Regions from separate parts of the Homo sapiens genome. Here region 2 is linked to region 1. Evidence: promoter capture Hi-C in human tissues and cell types (Jung and others, 2019). All regions are on one chromosome and are shown on one strand. Each heading gives the region's core, a stretch centred on a gene start or on the middle of the fragment in contact. The rest is flanking DNA. Distances are from core to core; before and after follow the strand shown. Region 1 holds the start of ARMC9 (armadillo repeat containing 9). Region 2 overlaps PSMD1 (proteasome 26S subunit, non-ATPase 1).

The links. Contacts are between HindIII fragments. The study calls those that stand out against the background at their distance.
Region 2: a fragment that was not itself captured here is called in contact with the fragment with the promoter of ARMC9 in region 1 in 1 of the 25 tissues and cell types used here (IMR-90 fibroblasts).

Annotation. Positions count from the first base shown.
Region 1 is chr2:231,195,307-231,200,749 of GRCh38, reverse strand. ARMC9 (armadillo repeat containing 9) reads right to left here and starts at 2,119. Exons shown (of 25, transcript NM_001352754.2): 1 at 2,052-2,119. RefSeq lists a silencer at 1,974-2,313. The HindIII fragment of the contact is 14,859 bases long and covers 1-5,443 here.
Region 2 is chr2:231,060,138-231,065,580 of GRCh38, reverse strand. PSMD1 (proteasome 26S subunit, non-ATPase 1) reads right to left here. Exons shown (of 25, transcript NM_002807.4): 2 at 4,271-4,314; 3 at 3,260-3,333; 4 at 2,906-3,075. Among named protein-coding and RNA genes, the nearest start is that of PSMD1, 6.0 kb to the right of the region's middle. The HindIII fragment of the contact is 6,709 bases long and covers 1-5,443 here.

The DNA.
Region 1 (5,443 bases), core at 870-3,369:
GATTCTCCCACCTCAGCCTCCCAAGTAGCTGGGGTTATAGGCATGCGCCATGACGCCCAGCTAATTTTGTTGTTTTGAGATGGAGTTTCACTTTTGCCGCCCAGGCTGGAGTGCAAAGGTGCAATCTGGCTCACTGCAACCTCTGCCTCCCAGGTTCAAGTGATTCTCCTGCCTCAGCCTCCCAAGTATATGGGATTACAGGCGTCCGCCACCAACGCCCAGCTAATTTTTGTATTTTTAGTAGAGACAGGGTTTCACCAGGTTGGCCAGGCTGGTCTTGAACTCCTGACCTCAAGCGATTCACCCACCCAAAGTGCAGGGATTACAGGCATGAGCCACTGCACCTGGCACTTCTTATAACCCTGTTCACAAAGACAGGGAGCTGTATTTCAACTTCATATCCCCAGAACCTAACAGAGTGTCTAGTAAGCAAGAAAGGTACTCAAGGCATATAATGAATAAATGAAGCCGGAGCTGAGGGGATGTCATTTTAAAGGCCCTGGAACGGGAAAAGTGAGTTTCTGAGAATTTGAAACCTTGAGGCCAACCTCAAGGCCTTTGCGCATATTACTCTCTCCGCCTAGAACACTCTTCCCTCTCTTCACCTGGTTAACCACTGTGCCTAATAAACATCACCTCCTTAGAGTAGACCTCCCTAAGCCGTTTAAATAGTATCTGCTGTGATCAACTGTCATTGAATGTGAGTGCTGCTGGGTATCCTATTACTCAACATTCTTAGAAATTACAGAATTGGCCAGGCACAGTGGCTCACACCTGTAATCCCAACACTTTGGGAGGCTGAGGCAGGCGGATCACCTGAGGTCAGGAGTTCGAGACCAGCCTGATCAACATGGTGGAACCCCATCTCTACTAAAAATACAAAAATTAGCCGGGCGTGGTGGCGTCTGCACCTGTAATCCCAGCTACCAGGGAGGCTGAGGCAAGAGAATCGCTTGAACCCAGGAGGTGGAGGTTGCAGTGAGCCGAGATCATGCCACTCCACTCCAGCCTGAGCGACAGGGAAAGACTCCGTCTCAAAAAAAGGAAAAGAAAAAGAAATTACAGAATTTTCTCTAAACTTTTATATCATAATAGGTATCATTTATTGAAGGTATATGGTATGCCAGGCAATGTGCAAAATGTTTTACATTTAACCTTCATAGTAAACCTGACAGGTGAATATAGTTTATATTTTCCCATTCCAGATGAGGCAATTTGAGGCCCAGGAAGTCTGACACACTCCCAACAGCCACAGTAAGTGACTAAGCGGCTGAAAAGAACCACTACACAGTATTTCCCAAAGTCTGGACCACCTAAATCAGAATCAGCTGGCACGCTTGTGCAAATGAAAATTCCTGCCTCCACCCTGGTCTTACTGAACACCGTGGCAGGCACCATGCCCAGAAATCTGCCTTTTAAACAAGCTCCCTGAGTGACTTTTACACACTCTCAAGTTTGAGAACCAGTGCTCTCCTTTATGCGGAAACTAAGAAAAACTTTTCCAGTTACATTTGGGGATTGCAGCGGCAGCTTTTGAATTCCTATATAAGAAAGATTTAGGGCCCACAAACGGGTGGGATTATGGGATTTGTATGGAAGCCGAATCTGCATAGCACGCATCCTGTTTTTCCTAAGATTAGGTGAAGTCTGGACTTCAACTGGGTGCCTCAGGAACGCGGCTAGCAGATGGAGATTATCAGGGGGATCTAAATCCCGGATAACCCGCTCGCGCCGCCACCACCAGCTGGATGGCTTGAGGGACCCCCTCCAAGTATGGCCCACTGCAGCAAAGATCAGGGACTACTTGCGGGAAGCAGCTGGGCCTGTCCTTTCTTGGGATGTCCAGGCGGCCGCCTCGGCCCTTGCCGAAGAAAGATCCCTGGACCGCAGGCGAGAAGTGGTAGCATCCGGCGGCGGCGGAGCGGGCGCGTCGGGTTTTTCCTCGGAACAAGAGGTCCGCAGAGCCTCGGCCCTCCAAACGCACCGCTGCTCCTCCCAGCACCAGGACGGCGGGCGGAGGGTGGCCCGGCTGCATCCGGGGACGCGCTTACCTGCTGCTCGGCCGCGGACACTCGCGCTATCCCAGCCCGGCCGCCACCTCCGCAGCCGTCACCCGGGCAACCGCCGCCGCCACCCCGGCGTCACGTGGGGGCGGCGCAGCCAATCGCGCGGGGCGCCGCCGACGCGGAGCAGCCTGGGAGGGAAGGTGGGCGACCCCGAAACTTCCTGGCGGCGGAAGTGAGGGTCCACAGCCCAGCAGTGGTGAAGGTTCACGCGCTGGATGACCGCGTCTTCTGTGGTCCTCTCCACCACTCCACTTTCGTTCGTTCATTCATTCGTTCATTTCCCTTTCGTTGCGCCAGTCGCTGCGCCGGCTCTCGGGATGAGCCGGAGCAGGCTCAACCCCTTGTCTCAAGGAGCTCGTGGTCGCGTAGAGAACACAAACTAGGACAGTGTGGTGTCCGTGGGGAAAGAGTCAGGCATGGTTATTCCCATCTTAAAGGAGGGACCTGGGGCCACCTTAGAACCAAAAGTGACGCCCAAGATGTGCATTAAAGCTCCGGGGACCAGGGTCCCGCCCCACTGCAGCGGTTTCCAAGGATTTCAGAGAAACTTTTTGTTTTCCATGTCAAATGTGGGCTATTAAAAATAAATCAGGAGCACACGTCTTCCCTCTCTTTGCACCTGATGCTTTTGAACTGAAGTTCATCAGCACTGAATGAGCACTTGCTAGTCACCCAACTTTGTGCTGGAGGGTGAAGAGATGGCCATGGATAGAAAATCCCTCCCCTCCAGGCGTTGAGATTCCGTGGGAGTCTCTCGTTGCCACCTCAGTGTTTCCACCTCCATGCTTCCAAGAAGGAGGAGGCTACCAGGGCCAGAGACAGGGAATGGGGCACGGAGAAGGTAGGTCAGCTCGCCTTTGAAGAAGCCCTAAGATGGGCTGTGGCCACCACTTCCCCAGTCCCCAACCCTGCCAGTGGATTGTCTTCCAAAAGAAAAAAAGCTGTATTTAGTAGAAGAGAGCCCTATCTTCTGTCCAGGTAATATGGATTGAAAATAAATCTTCAATCCATGGCCATAATATTTATCGTCAACACAACTGTATGCCGGGAGATGCCAGACAAAATATAGAACACACAGTTAAATGTAAATTTTAGATAATGTTTTAGTGTAAGTAAATCCCAAAAACTGCTTCATTTTATTGTGCATGTAGGATGTTATATTGTTCTGTATTTTTGTTTGCAAAACGTGCAGCCTATATGTGTGCCCAGCATTGTGCTAAGTGAATCATATAGATTGTTTTCTTTAGTTCTCACACCAGGCCCGGCACGGTGGCTCACACCTGTAATCCCAGCACTTGGGAGGCCAAGGCAGATGGATCACCTAAGGTCACAAGTTTCAGACCAGCCTGGCCAACATGGTGAAACCTGTCTCTACTAAAAATACAAAAATTAGCTGGGCGTATTGGCATGTGCCTGTAGTCCCAGCCACTCGGGAAGCTGAGGCAGGAGAATCCTTGAACCCGGAAGATGGAGGTTTCAGTGAGCCGAGATCACGCCACTGTACTCCAGCCTGGGCAACAGAGTGAGACTCTGTCTCAAAAAAAAAAAAGTTTTTAATTCTCACACCACATCTATGAGATGAATAATATTTTCAGCATTTTACTGATTGACAATGTTGTAATTAACCTGAGCTGTGTGCTCTTAGAAAACAGCCACAGTTAAGAAATCTCACCCACGCACCCCCAAACCTTTTGTTTTCTAAAATCCTCCACACTTTTGTGTTCTGGGAAGTAGCTTATCAGAAAGAACTACCCTTCCACATATGACTTCATCAGACCCACAGTCCTGTCTTTCTCATGCCTCCCATATGATGCACGGATGACCCCCTTGTTTACCTGTGACAAGGACAAATGCAGACCTTTTCCCTTCTGCCTGAGTCTGCCGGCAAGGCCAAGGACAGACTTTTCAGCTTCTCATTCTTTGTCTCATGGTTGATTAGCTGAGATTAGAGCTGTCTGTTTTGTCTTTGGCAAGATGAACAACATGAGGCATACGGGATTAAGAAACTCCTCAAAGTTTACACCACTGAGGAGACCAGGACTAAACCCAGGTCTCCGTGTCTCTGGACCCTGGGCTCTGAGCTGCCGTGAACACCCCACCTGCTTTGCTTTCCCTCCTGAGTGCATTTGCCTGACTGCCGGGATTATGGTCATTGTGGTGGCTATTGTCTTTGTCTGTCTACCTCCCCTCTCCCTTCTGGTAACATACCCCATCCCTCACCACAGGATGGGCAGATGGTCCAAACTGGACCAATCTTACCCCATCCCTCTGGCCTCAGTGATGGGTCCAGGATGGGCATGTGAGCCAAGCAAAGCCAATGATAGTCCTTCCCTGGGATTTTGCTGTTGAAGTGTGGTCAGGTTATTGTAAAGTGAGACTCCAGGGCAGCCTACAGCATTCACTACATGGGAAAGACTGAGAAGATGAAGCCATTACCTAGAGAAATGCAAAGAAAGTGCTGGGGACATCAAATCCCTGGTCCCAGGATCTGAGTTCCCTGGAGCTGCACTTATTCTTACAGCTCCTCCAGCATCCTTCCAATCAACTGTCTTTTAAATTTTTTATTTTTTTGAGACAGGGTCTTACTCTGTCACCCAGGCTGGAGTGCAGTGGCGCAATCTCAGCTTGCTGCAACCTCTGCCTCCTGGGCTCAAACAATCCTCCCACCTCAGCCTCCCTCATAGCTGAGATTACAGGCATGTGCCACCACGCTCAGCTAATTTTTGTACTTTTTATAGAGACGGAGTTTTGCCATGTTGCCCAGGCTGGTCTCAAACTCCTGAGCTCAAGCCATCTGCCTGCCTCAGCCTCCCAAAGTGCTGGGATTATACATATTACTGCACCCGACTTCAACCATCTTTTTAATTTCAACTAGTTTGGACCTGCATGGTGGCTCATGCCTGTAATCCCAGCACTTTGGGAGGCCAAGGTGGGAGAATTGCTTGAGGCCAGGAGTTTCAGACCAGCCTACACAACATAGCAACATCCATCTGTACAAAAAAAAAAAATCCGTCTGTACAAAAAAAAAATTATTTTAATTAATAAACTGGTTCAAGTTGGGTTTCTGTCACTTGCAACCAAAAGAGACCAGACTAACATAGACACAATTTCTATATGTCTGTTTGAGATAGGAAAAACCAAACTGACTGCTTTTACTCTTCTCACACTCAACACATTTTTTTTTTTTTGAGACAGAGTCTAACTCTGTTGCCCAGGCTAGAGTGAAGTGGCACAGTCATAGCTTGCTGCAGCCTCAGCTTCCAGGCTCAAGTGATCCTCCTGCCTCAGCCTCCCAAGTAGCTGCTGGGACCACAAGCACGCACCACTATGCTCGGCTTTTTCTTTTTTTTTTTTTCCTTAGAGGTGGGGTCCCACTT
Region 2 (5,443 bases), core at 1,683-4,182, 140 kb after region 1:
ACGCCTGTAATCCCAGCACTTTGGGAGGCCGAGGCGGGTGGATCACGAGGTCAGGAGATCGAGATCATCCTGGCTAACACGGTGAAACCCCGTCTCTACTAAAAATACAAAAAAAAAAAAATTAGCCGGGTGTGGTGGCGGGCGCCTGTAGTCCCAGCTACTCGGGAGGCTGAGGCAGGAGAATGGCGTGAACCCGGGAGGTGGAGGTTCCAGTGAGCCGAGATCGCGCCACTGCACTCCAGCCTGGGAGACAGAGCGAGACTGTCTCAAAACAAAAAACAAAAAAACAAAAAAACAAAAAAAACAAAAAAACAAAAAACCCAGTCACCCAAGAGGAATGACATATACATTAATTATCCTCTCCATAATTCATTGGCTTGTTTCTTTCCCTTTCAAAGATAAGTAAGAAGACGAGGGCAAGATTTATTAGTTACAAACCATAGCCCCAAGAAATAAAAATAATTTTAACTAGCATAAATGATTGTTGGCCTACTAGATGACCCGGGTTAAATGGGTCTATATCTTGAAGGAAGCAGAGGACTTTTATAAATTGGAATATACTACATTCAAGATTCAGCTGGAACCATGAAGGTTCAGGTACAGTTAATAAGAACATAGTGGGTTGGGTCAGTGGCTCACATCTGTAATCCCAAAATCTTGGGAAGCCGAGGCAAGTGGATCACTTGAGGCCAGGAGTTTAAGACCAGCCTGGCCAACATGGCAAAACCCCATTTCTACAACACAAAAATTAGCCAGGTGTGGTAGTGTGCACCTGTCATCCCAGCTACTTGGGAGGCTGAGGCACGAGAATCACTTGAACCAGGGAGGTGGAGGTTGCAGCGAGCCAAGATCGTGCCATTGCACTCCAGCCCGGGCAACAGAGAAAAACTGCCAAAAAACAAACAGACAAACAAAAAAACACAGTGGATGTTATAATGCAAAATAGACCTTAAAGAATTCCAGTTGTTGAAAATGTCCACCAGGCCCTAATGTGAGCTTTTTGAACCAACTGTAGCTAAGTGAGGAAACATTACCCCTACCCCATCAGAGAGGAACCTCAAAATTAGAACATTTGGGGAATTTTCCTTAGATTATATAACTGAAGGGGAAAAATGTATGTCCCAGGTTTCAAATGAGATTCATGTTCTCATTCACCAGGTTTGCATATATGTCATAAATATATCCCAGGTTTATGTTATAACTAAAACTCAGCCTCATTTCCTGCTAAAGCCTTGTCATAACTTGGAGATTTATGAGTCCTGGATTTTCTGGAGGTACTGTTTACGATATTCATTAAGACGCTAGGAAGCCTTACCCAAATTCTGTTTTGTATACCCCCTCATGAATCTCACTGACATCTTAAAAAATGTGCCCTACAAAACTAGAGGAAGGGTGAACCCCACTTTTAAATAAATAAATGCAAACAGAACTGGTCTACTGATCAAAACTCACCTTCCAAAGGTAAAATGATACAGTGTTTAGAAGGCATCTACCATGCCATAGCACTTCATACCAACAGTCCAGTTTAAAAGCACAATTTGTACAATGGTGGCATTTTAAGCATTTGTAGATCACTGTTGTAAAAAACCATAAACCTTCATTAAAGAAAAAAAAAAGGCTGGCTGTGGTGGCTCACGCCTGTTAATTCCAACACTTTGGGAGGCCAAAGCAGGAGAACTGCTTGAGGCCAGGAGTTTGAGACCACCCTGGTCAACACAGTGAGATCCTGCCCTGTTTTCAAAAAAAAAAAAATCCATCAAATAAAAGAGATAAGTAAGGTATTTCACCCCCTGCTTCTAGCTTAAAGTGAAGAAAGTAGTCTAGTTTCAAATAATACGGTCCATCCTTTTAAGCCATCAGTTCTTCCCACTGGATTCACAGATGACAGCTCAATTCAATGAGCCTCCAACAGCAATAAAGTAACTTGCAAAATTTTCACATCATCATAGCAAAAACTTTAAAAACATGAACACAGAATCCCAAGGACAGTTGATGGTACCTCTATCAACCCCCTTGTGCAGGACTTCCCAATTTCTAAAAGAGAATACCAACTTCCTCCTTGTAAGTGTTCAAGTGAATAATACAGACCTTCTACTAATCAGCAATGTGAAATATCTGCACTGCACACTCCTGACAGAACATGCCCTTGAGCTCTCTGTACTATGAATCCAAAGTCTGATAAACACATGTCTGAAGGGTATGCAGTCCCTTCTTTCATTTACTACATCAACAGTTTTCAAGCATTTTTTTACACTATAAAATCTTTGTATCAAATCTTACATAACTAGTTGAATTTACAACTCTGGTTGAAATATGTGTCAGAAAATTCAAAGCCTTGCCTGTGTGTTATCCCCTTCCTTCAAAAATAAGGAAACAAGTAAGAAAACAACGGTTACAAATAGAAACAGTATGGGTTTTAGAGTGAGTAAAACCAGGTTTTAAATTTTATCCTTCTATTTAATAACCATGTCTTTATCATCTCAAAATCCAAGTTGTCTCATCTGTAAAACGGCTAGCTCCTTCCTCATGGGGTAGCTGTGGAATAAACCATGGTATGCAGAGTGACTAGCACGGTGCCTAGCACAATGCAGATACTAAATAATGGTTTCCTGTATTCGAAAAAACTACACAAACTGGTACCACTTGTTACTCATACTAATCTGATTTAATCTTTTCCTCTAACAGTAGGCTCACTGGACTGGTGATCATCATAACCACTGAGAACCAGCACTCAGTTGAAGGGCAGATCTAAAAACTCAGCCTGCATAAAATTATTATAGAAAGATTAGGAACTTCCAATTAAAATGAAATTTGGCAACATCAAATTCAGGAAAAAAGCTTCTATGTGCACTACAGCAAGAAAGAAGCCGACAAGATAAAGCCTTACCAGATAGACGATAATTACCTATAATAGTTTCCACATATTCAGAGTTATCATTGACATTGAAGAGGTCCCCTGCTCCAAGAGCATAATTCAGAGACTCCTCAAAAGCCCCCAGGTGATAAAATACTTTAGATGCCACTAAGGCTGCAAACTGCCGACTCCGGAAACCTTCATCTTCGTATAAAACCTCTCTGAAAGAAATTAGGAAGTACAGGTCTAGTTCAAACTGTGGTTTTCCCTAAAAATCCCAAATCTAAATATTCAAGCCACAATTCAGTTAACAGCAAATTTCTAAATGAATCAATAAGCCACAAGACCCACATTCACAATTAAATTTGATCCATCTTATTCTGATTTATAAAAATAATTTCTTACATTTTGTCTACGGACTCGGAAATTTCTGCCCAGAAGTCATTAACAACTGCATTCAATTTGTGTAGTGCAAATTCCTGTAAAAGATAACCAAAATCCTATTTTGAGATAGACTTATCATTACACTTCCTTAAAAAATTCTTTTCAGCAAATCAATGATCAAATCCTCAGTAATATTTACTCAAACTTTTACTCTATGACAAATATAAAAATTTACCAACTTACACTTTTTCTTGAGTTTACACATTTCTTTTCTGTTTTCAATCATCAACATTTTTCTTCTTTGAATATAAACAATTAACTCCAGGTTGCTGGTTTAGATGTAAAGGAATCAAGTATCTAGAGCCACCAGAAGGACATTCCAAATTTTCATCAAATAAAAAACTTTAAATATGTGAAACAGAAGCAACAACTTTTTGTGTTTTCTGTTGATAATGAAACTGGGGCGGGGGAAGCGGAAGGTGTGGTGGCTCAGACCCGTAATCCCAGTACTTTGGGAGGTCAAGGCGGGGGGATCACTTGAGCCCAGGAGCAGGAGTTTGAGATCAACCTGGACAACACAGTGAGACCCCATCACAACAAAAAATTTAAAAATTAGCTGAGTGTGGTGGTGCATGCCTACAGTCCTAGCTACTTGGGAGGCTGAGGTGGGAGGATCATTTGAGTGTAGGAGGTCAAGGCTGCAGTGAACCATGACCACACACTGCACTCTAGCCTGGGTGATAAAGCGAGACTCTGTCTCAAAAAAGAAAAAAGATTAAAAAAAGAAAAAAAAGAAAGAAATTAGGGGGCTATTCAAGTGTCGTAACGAGGTTTATTTGTCTTAGCTTTGTTAAACTCAAGGGAAACCAACTGCTGTGGCCAAAATACTGTCCTCTCTGGCTAGGTTACAGTAACTGGGTACAAGCCAGCTAGGACAGCAACTTTAAATGATGGAAGATTACAGATATCACTAAATTCAAAAGGCTTCACAGTATTCACACTAAGCCTAGTTACTTATTCTTCAATTCATACCTTAAGCTGTGGTTCATCTTCATCCAGAAGAGAAATAATTCCAGCTATGAGAAAAAAGATGTAACATGATTATGAAACACATTCTCACTAAAGTGGAAATTAACACCTGGTCAAAAATACATGATGGCTGAAAAACAATTTTTTTGAGGCGTAACTTCTCCAGGGGAATGATTATTTTTCTTTGAAAGTGTAAAGGTTTATATCTCAAGTTTAAGACTTAACTATATTATCAAACCCTCATGGCACCACATATATTACATCATTTGCCTAATTCAATGGTTTTCAGTGTGTTCCCTGGACTAACAGCATTGCCTGGGAACCTGTTAGAAATACACATTCTCGGCCCCATTCCAGACCTACTGAATCACAAATTATGAGGATGGGGCCCAGTACTGTGATTCTTTTGCTCTCTATAGTTTGAGAACCATTGGCCTAATTTACTGATTAAAATGGGAAACTTTCCTATACAATTTTAGAATAAAATTATTCATACAAAATAAATCAACAGTTATAAGATTATTTACAAAAATGGGAGCATTTAGTCATCAAATCAACAAGGTAAAATACTTCAATTATTTCAAGGTGTGTATATTATGGCACCTCTTTCCTATCACAAGTAACCTGGGTTTTACCAAATGATGAACAATCATACTCATTCTGAATTCAATTACCCAAGCACAGTGTTCTCCATATGGCTTCTCTTAGCCTCAAGGTATTACCACTAACATAGGAGAGTAAAAGGAATAATTGTCCTCTCCAAAAGAACACACCTTGAAATATAGTCAAAGGTCAAAGGGATTATTGGAAAAATGATATGGGAAATTATTGTACTAAGACCACAAAGGAAACCACTCTCAAATGCTTTCCATGTGGGTTTTAAAATCATTCCAGAACACCGAGTTGAAACTGTGGTTTGATTAAAAAGTGTCAAGGCAACTTAGTTAGATGTAGCCATTTCTAATTGACAAGTATAGGTTTGCCAAATAGCTTAAGCAATCTTTAGGAAGCCACACAGGAAAAGATACAAAATTTACCAAGCAAAACTAAAGTAGCATAAAAGCAGATATAAAGAACCTCTTGGTACTCTAGGTTGGTATGACAAGTCCAGAACAGAGATTCTGAATGGACAGCACAGGGAACAGATAAATTTCAAAATTCAATCAGTGAAAAAGA